2 separate regions of the Homo sapiens genome follow, and region 2 is linked to region 1. The links are contacts of gene promoters, found by promoter capture Hi-C in blood cells and fetal thymus (Javierre and others, 2016). All regions are on one chromosome and are shown on one strand. Each heading gives the region's core, a stretch centred on a gene start or on the middle of the fragment in contact. The rest is flanking DNA. Distances are from core to core; before and after follow the strand shown.

Evidence for each region. Contacts are between HindIII fragments. The CHiCAGO score rates a contact against its expected background, and 5 or more counts as called.
Region 2: a fragment that was not itself captured here is called in contact with the fragment with the promoter of MRPL4 in region 1 in 2 of 17 cell types (naive B cells and activated CD4 T cells); the score reaches 5.2 in naive B cells.

Annotation. Positions count from the first base shown.
Region 1 is chr19:10,250,959-10,253,471 of GRCh38, reverse strand. MRPL4 (mitochondrial ribosomal protein L4) reads right to left here and starts at 1,258. Exons shown (of 9, transcript NM_015956.3): 1 at 1,162-1,258; 2 at 1,009-1,075; 3 at 771-921. The coding sequence starts at 1,218. RefSeq lists enhancers at 756-1,329, 1,186-1,595, 1,726-1,875, 1,330-1,903. The HindIII fragment of the contact is 20,723 bases long and covers 1-2,513 here.
Region 2 is chr19:10,513,505-10,516,017 of GRCh38, reverse strand. It overlaps S1PR5 (sphingosine-1-phosphate receptor 5), which reads left to right. Exons shown (of 2, transcript NM_030760.5): 2 at 989-2,513. The coding sequence starts at 1,007. The coding sequence ends at 2,203. Among named protein-coding and RNA genes, the nearest start is that of S1PR5, 2.7 kb to the left of the region's middle. RefSeq lists enhancers at 94-687, 688-1,281. The HindIII fragment of the contact is 3,006 bases long and covers 1-2,513 here.

The DNA of each region.
Region 1 (2,513 bases), core at 9-2,508:
TGAGACAGAGTGTTGCCCAGGATGGAGTGCAGTGGCGCGATCTCGGCTCACTGCAAGCTCCGCCTCCCGGGTTCACGCCATTCTCTTGCCTCAGCCTCCAGAGTACCTGGGACTACAGACGCCCGCCACCACGCCCGGCTAATTTTTTTTTGTATTTTTAGTAGAGACGGGGTTTCACCATGTTAGCCAGGATGGTCTCGATCTCCTGACCTCGTGATCCGCCCGCCTTGGCCTCCCAAAGTGCTGGGATTACAGGCGTGAGCCACTGCGCCCAGGGTGGCCCCTACATTTTCTTAGAGATGTTATGAACAGCAGGGTAACTAAAATGCAAACAGCCTCTTCCAGGCACCGAGGAATGGTTTAGTCTTTTTAGTGCTCTTATTTGCAAAAACCAGTTAACAAAGATTATCAACATTTCTATAGAACTTATTATGTGCCAGAATTAAGTCATTTATTCATCACAGCAACCTCCCGACCGCTGACAAAATAGGGACACTGAGGGACAAGAGGGGAAGGCAGGATTTGAACCTAATCAGTCGGGCTCCAGAATTCTGTCTCCCTAACCCTTAGATGATGTCACCTCTCAGGCTTCAATCTCACACAGCGCTACAGCAGGGGAAACTGTCATCATTCCCCTTTGACAGGTGGAGAAACGGAGGCTGTAGAAATACAGCACTTTCCCAAGGGTACAAGCCCAAAGTCATCGTGACTCCTGAAATCCCGCTCTTCATCCCTCTGCCACTCAGTTCACCATTACAGCCCTCGCTCACCTGGGCGCGGTGGCGAAAACATCGGGGTGCAGGTCGGCCAGGCCCACGCGCTCCTGCTCGAAGCCCCGCAAGGACTCGACCCAGGCCTGCACTGGGCGTCGATGAGTGGGTACCGGGAGCTCGACTTTGCGCAGCACGGGCTCCGGGAGACCTGGAGCGATTGCGGGGGTCAGAGGTTAGGGTCAAGGGTCAGACCTCTCTGTCGCCGCCCCTCCTGGAGCCACCCCGGTTGCCTTACCCTCGCTCGCCACCTGCTCCGGGTTCTCGGTCGCACGCGCTGCCTCTTCCGCCAGGGAACTCAGGCCCTGCAAGGGTTGGGCGAAAGTGAGAGACGACCCCTGGACACCCCCAAATTTCATCCTTCGACCACGCCTCCAGCCCCTGGCCTCACCTGGCTGCCGGTAGGCCGAAGCCAGGCCCGCGCCCCGGCCCGGACGAACTGCAGCATCGCCGCGCAGCCTCCCACGCCGCGGGAGGTCAAGGCCACTGGAGCCTCGCGAGGCGCCGCTGGATGACGTCACGCACGCGACGCCGCCCTACCCGCCGCGACTCCGCGCTGGAAAGCGGGGTGTGCAAAACCGAAGATGGAGGGGGTCCGACCCGGCGTGCCCAGACCTCCACCCCAGGACTAACCCCCAGACCCAATTTTCACTCCTGCCTCAAGGACCCTCCGTAACACTGGGGAACGCGACCTCACAGCAAGAAGACCCAGCTTCCGTAGGCCTAGCCTACTTTGGGTCCCGCCTCCGACGAGCCGGTGCAGGAATTCAGCCAATGAGACCTCTCTGGCCCAATTCAGCCAATGACTGTTAAGCCTGAAGGAGTGACCCCCGCCCATAAGTGGGCAGTTCTGGAGTGAGCAACTAAGGAATACAGCCAATAACGCTTAAACTTTTGCTGTTGGTCACGCCCACCGGGCCACGCCTTCATCCCGCCTCCAAGGCTGTCGGAGATGGTTTTTTCTTTATCCAGTTATGTGGTTTTGTTTTTTTATTTGTTTTTTTGTTTTTGTTTTTGTTTTTGTTTTTGTTTTTTTTGAGACGGAGTCTTGCTCTGTTGCCCAGGCTGGAGTGCAGTGGCGCGATCTCGGCTCACTGCAAGCTCCGCCTCCTGGGTTCACGCCATTCTCCTGCCTCAGCCTCCCGAGTAGCTGGGACTGCAGGCGCCCGCCACCACGCCTGGCTAATTTTTTGTATTTTTAGTAGAGACGGGTATCACCGCGTTAGCCAGGATGGTCTCGATCTCCTGACCTCGTGATCCTCCCGCCTCAGCCTTCCAAAGTGCTGGGATTACAGGCGTGAGCCACCGTGCCTGGCGTTTTTTCATTTGTTTAAAGGCAGGGCCTTATTGCCCTCAGAAAGCCTTCAGGATTGGGCCTGCCAGACCATGCCTCCCAGTTTAGATTCCCCAGGGCAGGGCCATGTCCCCCCGAAACCCCTCAGATTAGGTATTTGTGTCCCTTACCCCCTAGACCAGGGTCCTCTCCCCTACCCCCTTAAACCAGGTCCCGTCCCCTCTCAGACCTTCCAGGGCTCTCCAAGGACAGAACAAAGTGGGGAGTCCACAGATCCTGGAGTGCCTCCCTTGTCGCCCCCTAACAAATCCGAATGCTTATTTTTAGTTTCTTTGTTTTGGTTTTTAGAGACAAGGTCTTCCTCTGTCGCCCAGGCTGGAGTGCAATGGGCAAGATCATGGCTTACTGCAGCCTCGACCTCCAGAGCTCAAGGGATTCTCCTGCCTCTG
Region 2 (2,513 bases), core at 7-2,506, 260 kb before region 1:
CTGTGTGTGTTGCGTTTGTGTGCGTTCTGTGTGTTTACTGTTACGTCTCTGGAACTCCCTGCTTGTGTGTTTGTGTGTGTGTGTTTGAGACAAAGTCTTGCTCTGTTGTCCTGGCTGGAGTACAGTGGCACAATCAATGCTCACTGACTGCAGCCTTGACCCCGCGGGCTCAAGTGATCCTCTCACCTCAGCTGGGACTCCACTGAGTAGCTTGGACTATAGGCATACACCAACACGTCCCGGCTAATTTTTGTAGAAACGGGGTTCTCCTATGTTGTCCAGGCTAATCTCGAACTCCTGGGCCTCAAACAATCCTCCCGCCTCAGCCTCCCAAAGTGCTGGAATTACAGGAGTGAGCCACCACACCCAGCCGTGTGTGTGTTTGGTGGGGAGGGGGGGTGTTTTGAGACAGAGTCTCGCTCTGCCACCTAGGTTGGAGTGCAGTGATGCGATCTCGGCTCACTGCAACCTCCGCCTCCTGGGTTCAAATGATTCTTCTGCCTCAGCCTCTGGAGTAGCTGGGACTACAGGCACGTGCCACCATGCCTGGCTAATTTTTTGTGTTTTTAGCAGAGACGGAGGGGTTCACCGTGTTAGCCAGGATGGTCTCGATCTCCTGACCTCGTGATCTGCCCCCCTTGGCCTCCCAGGCCTGAGCCACTGCCTCAGGCCTGAGCCTGGGGGGATTACAGGCGGGGATTACAGGCCTGAGCCACCGCGCCCAGCCATGTGTGAACCACCGCGCCCAGCCATTCATGTGTTATTAATGTCCCTTTTTTTGGGACTATGTCACCTTGTTCCCTCGTGATATTATTTGTGTGTATGTCTGTCTCCACGGACTCTATCCCTCCATCCTGAACTCCCCCTTGGACACCATGTATAGGGGGTGATGGTCAGTGGGTAGGGCCCCTTTCCCACGACTTAGCCGGCTGCTGCGAGCGTGCTTACGGGGACCGCGGCCTGACACCGTATCTTGCCTCTCCAACAGCCTTGGGGCGCGCGGCCCATGGAGTCGGGGCTGCTGCGGCCGGCGCCGGTGAGCGAGGTCATCGTCCTGCATTACAACTACACCGGCAAGCTCCGCGGTGCGCGCTACCAGCCGGGTGCCGGCCTGCGCGCCGACGCCGTGGTGTGCCTGGCGGTGTGCGCCTTCATCGTGCTAGAGAATCTAGCCGTGTTGTTGGTGCTCGGACGCCACCCGCGCTTCCACGCTCCCATGTTCCTGCTCCTGGGCAGCCTCACGTTGTCGGATCTGCTGGCAGGCGCCGCCTACGCCGCCAACATCCTACTGTCGGGGCCGCTCACGCTGAAACTGTCCCCCGCGCTCTGGTTCGCACGGGAGGGAGGCGTCTTCGTGGCACTCACTGCGTCCGTGCTGAGCCTCCTGGCCATCGCGCTGGAGCGCAGCCTCACCATGGCGCGCAGGGGGCCCGCGCCCGTCTCCAGTCGGGGGCGCACGCTGGCGATGGCAGCCGCGGCCTGGGGCGTGTCGCTGCTCCTCGGGCTCCTGCCAGCGCTGGGCTGGAATTGCCTGGGTCGCCTGGACGCTTGCTCCACTGTCTTGCCGCTCTACGCCAAGGCCTACGTGCTCTTCTGCGTGCTCGCCTTCGTGGGCATCCTGGCCGCTATCTGTGCACTCTACGCGCGCATCTACTGCCAGGTACGCGCCAACGCGCGGCGCCTGCCGGCACGGCCCGGGACTGCGGGGACCACCTCGACCCGGGCGCGTCGCAAGCCGCGCTCGCTGGCCTTGCTGCGCACGCTCAGCGTGGTGCTCCTGGCCTTTGTGGCATGTTGGGGCCCCCTCTTCCTGCTGCTGTTGCTCGACGTGGCGTGCCCGGCGCGCACCTGTCCTGTACTCCTGCAGGCCGATCCCTTCCTGGGACTGGCCATGGCCAACTCACTTCTGAACCCCATCATCTACACGCTCACCAACCGCGACCTGCGCCACGCGCTCCTGCGCCTGGTCTGCTGCGGACGCCACTCCTGCGGCAGAGACCCGAGTGGCTCCCAGCAGTCGGCGAGCGCGGCTGAGGCTTCCGGGGGCCTGCGCCGCTGCCTGCCCCCGGGCCTTGATGGGAGCTTCAGCGGCTCGGAGCGCTCATCGCCCCAGCGCGACGGGCTGGACACCAGCGGCTCCACAGGCAGCCCCGGTGCACCCACAGCCGCCCGGACTCTGGTATCAGAACCGGCTGCAGACTGACACCCTCGGCCCACGACTGTCTTCCCAAGTTTTACAGACTTGTTCTTTTTACATAAAGGAATTTGTAGGAAATGCAGCCAAAGGTGCAGTCGGAAAAGATGCAGGGGAAATGTATTTATGCAGCGACACCCCACAATGTGAACAAACAGACAAAAAATCTGTGCCCTCGTGGAATTGACGTTCTGCTTGGGAACACAGAAAAGAACTCGGTGATGAAATAATGGAGATGATTCCAGTGACAAACGACAGAGATGGTGATGGTGGTCAGGGAAGACCTCTCTGCAGAGGTAGTGACTTGTGATGTGAGCTG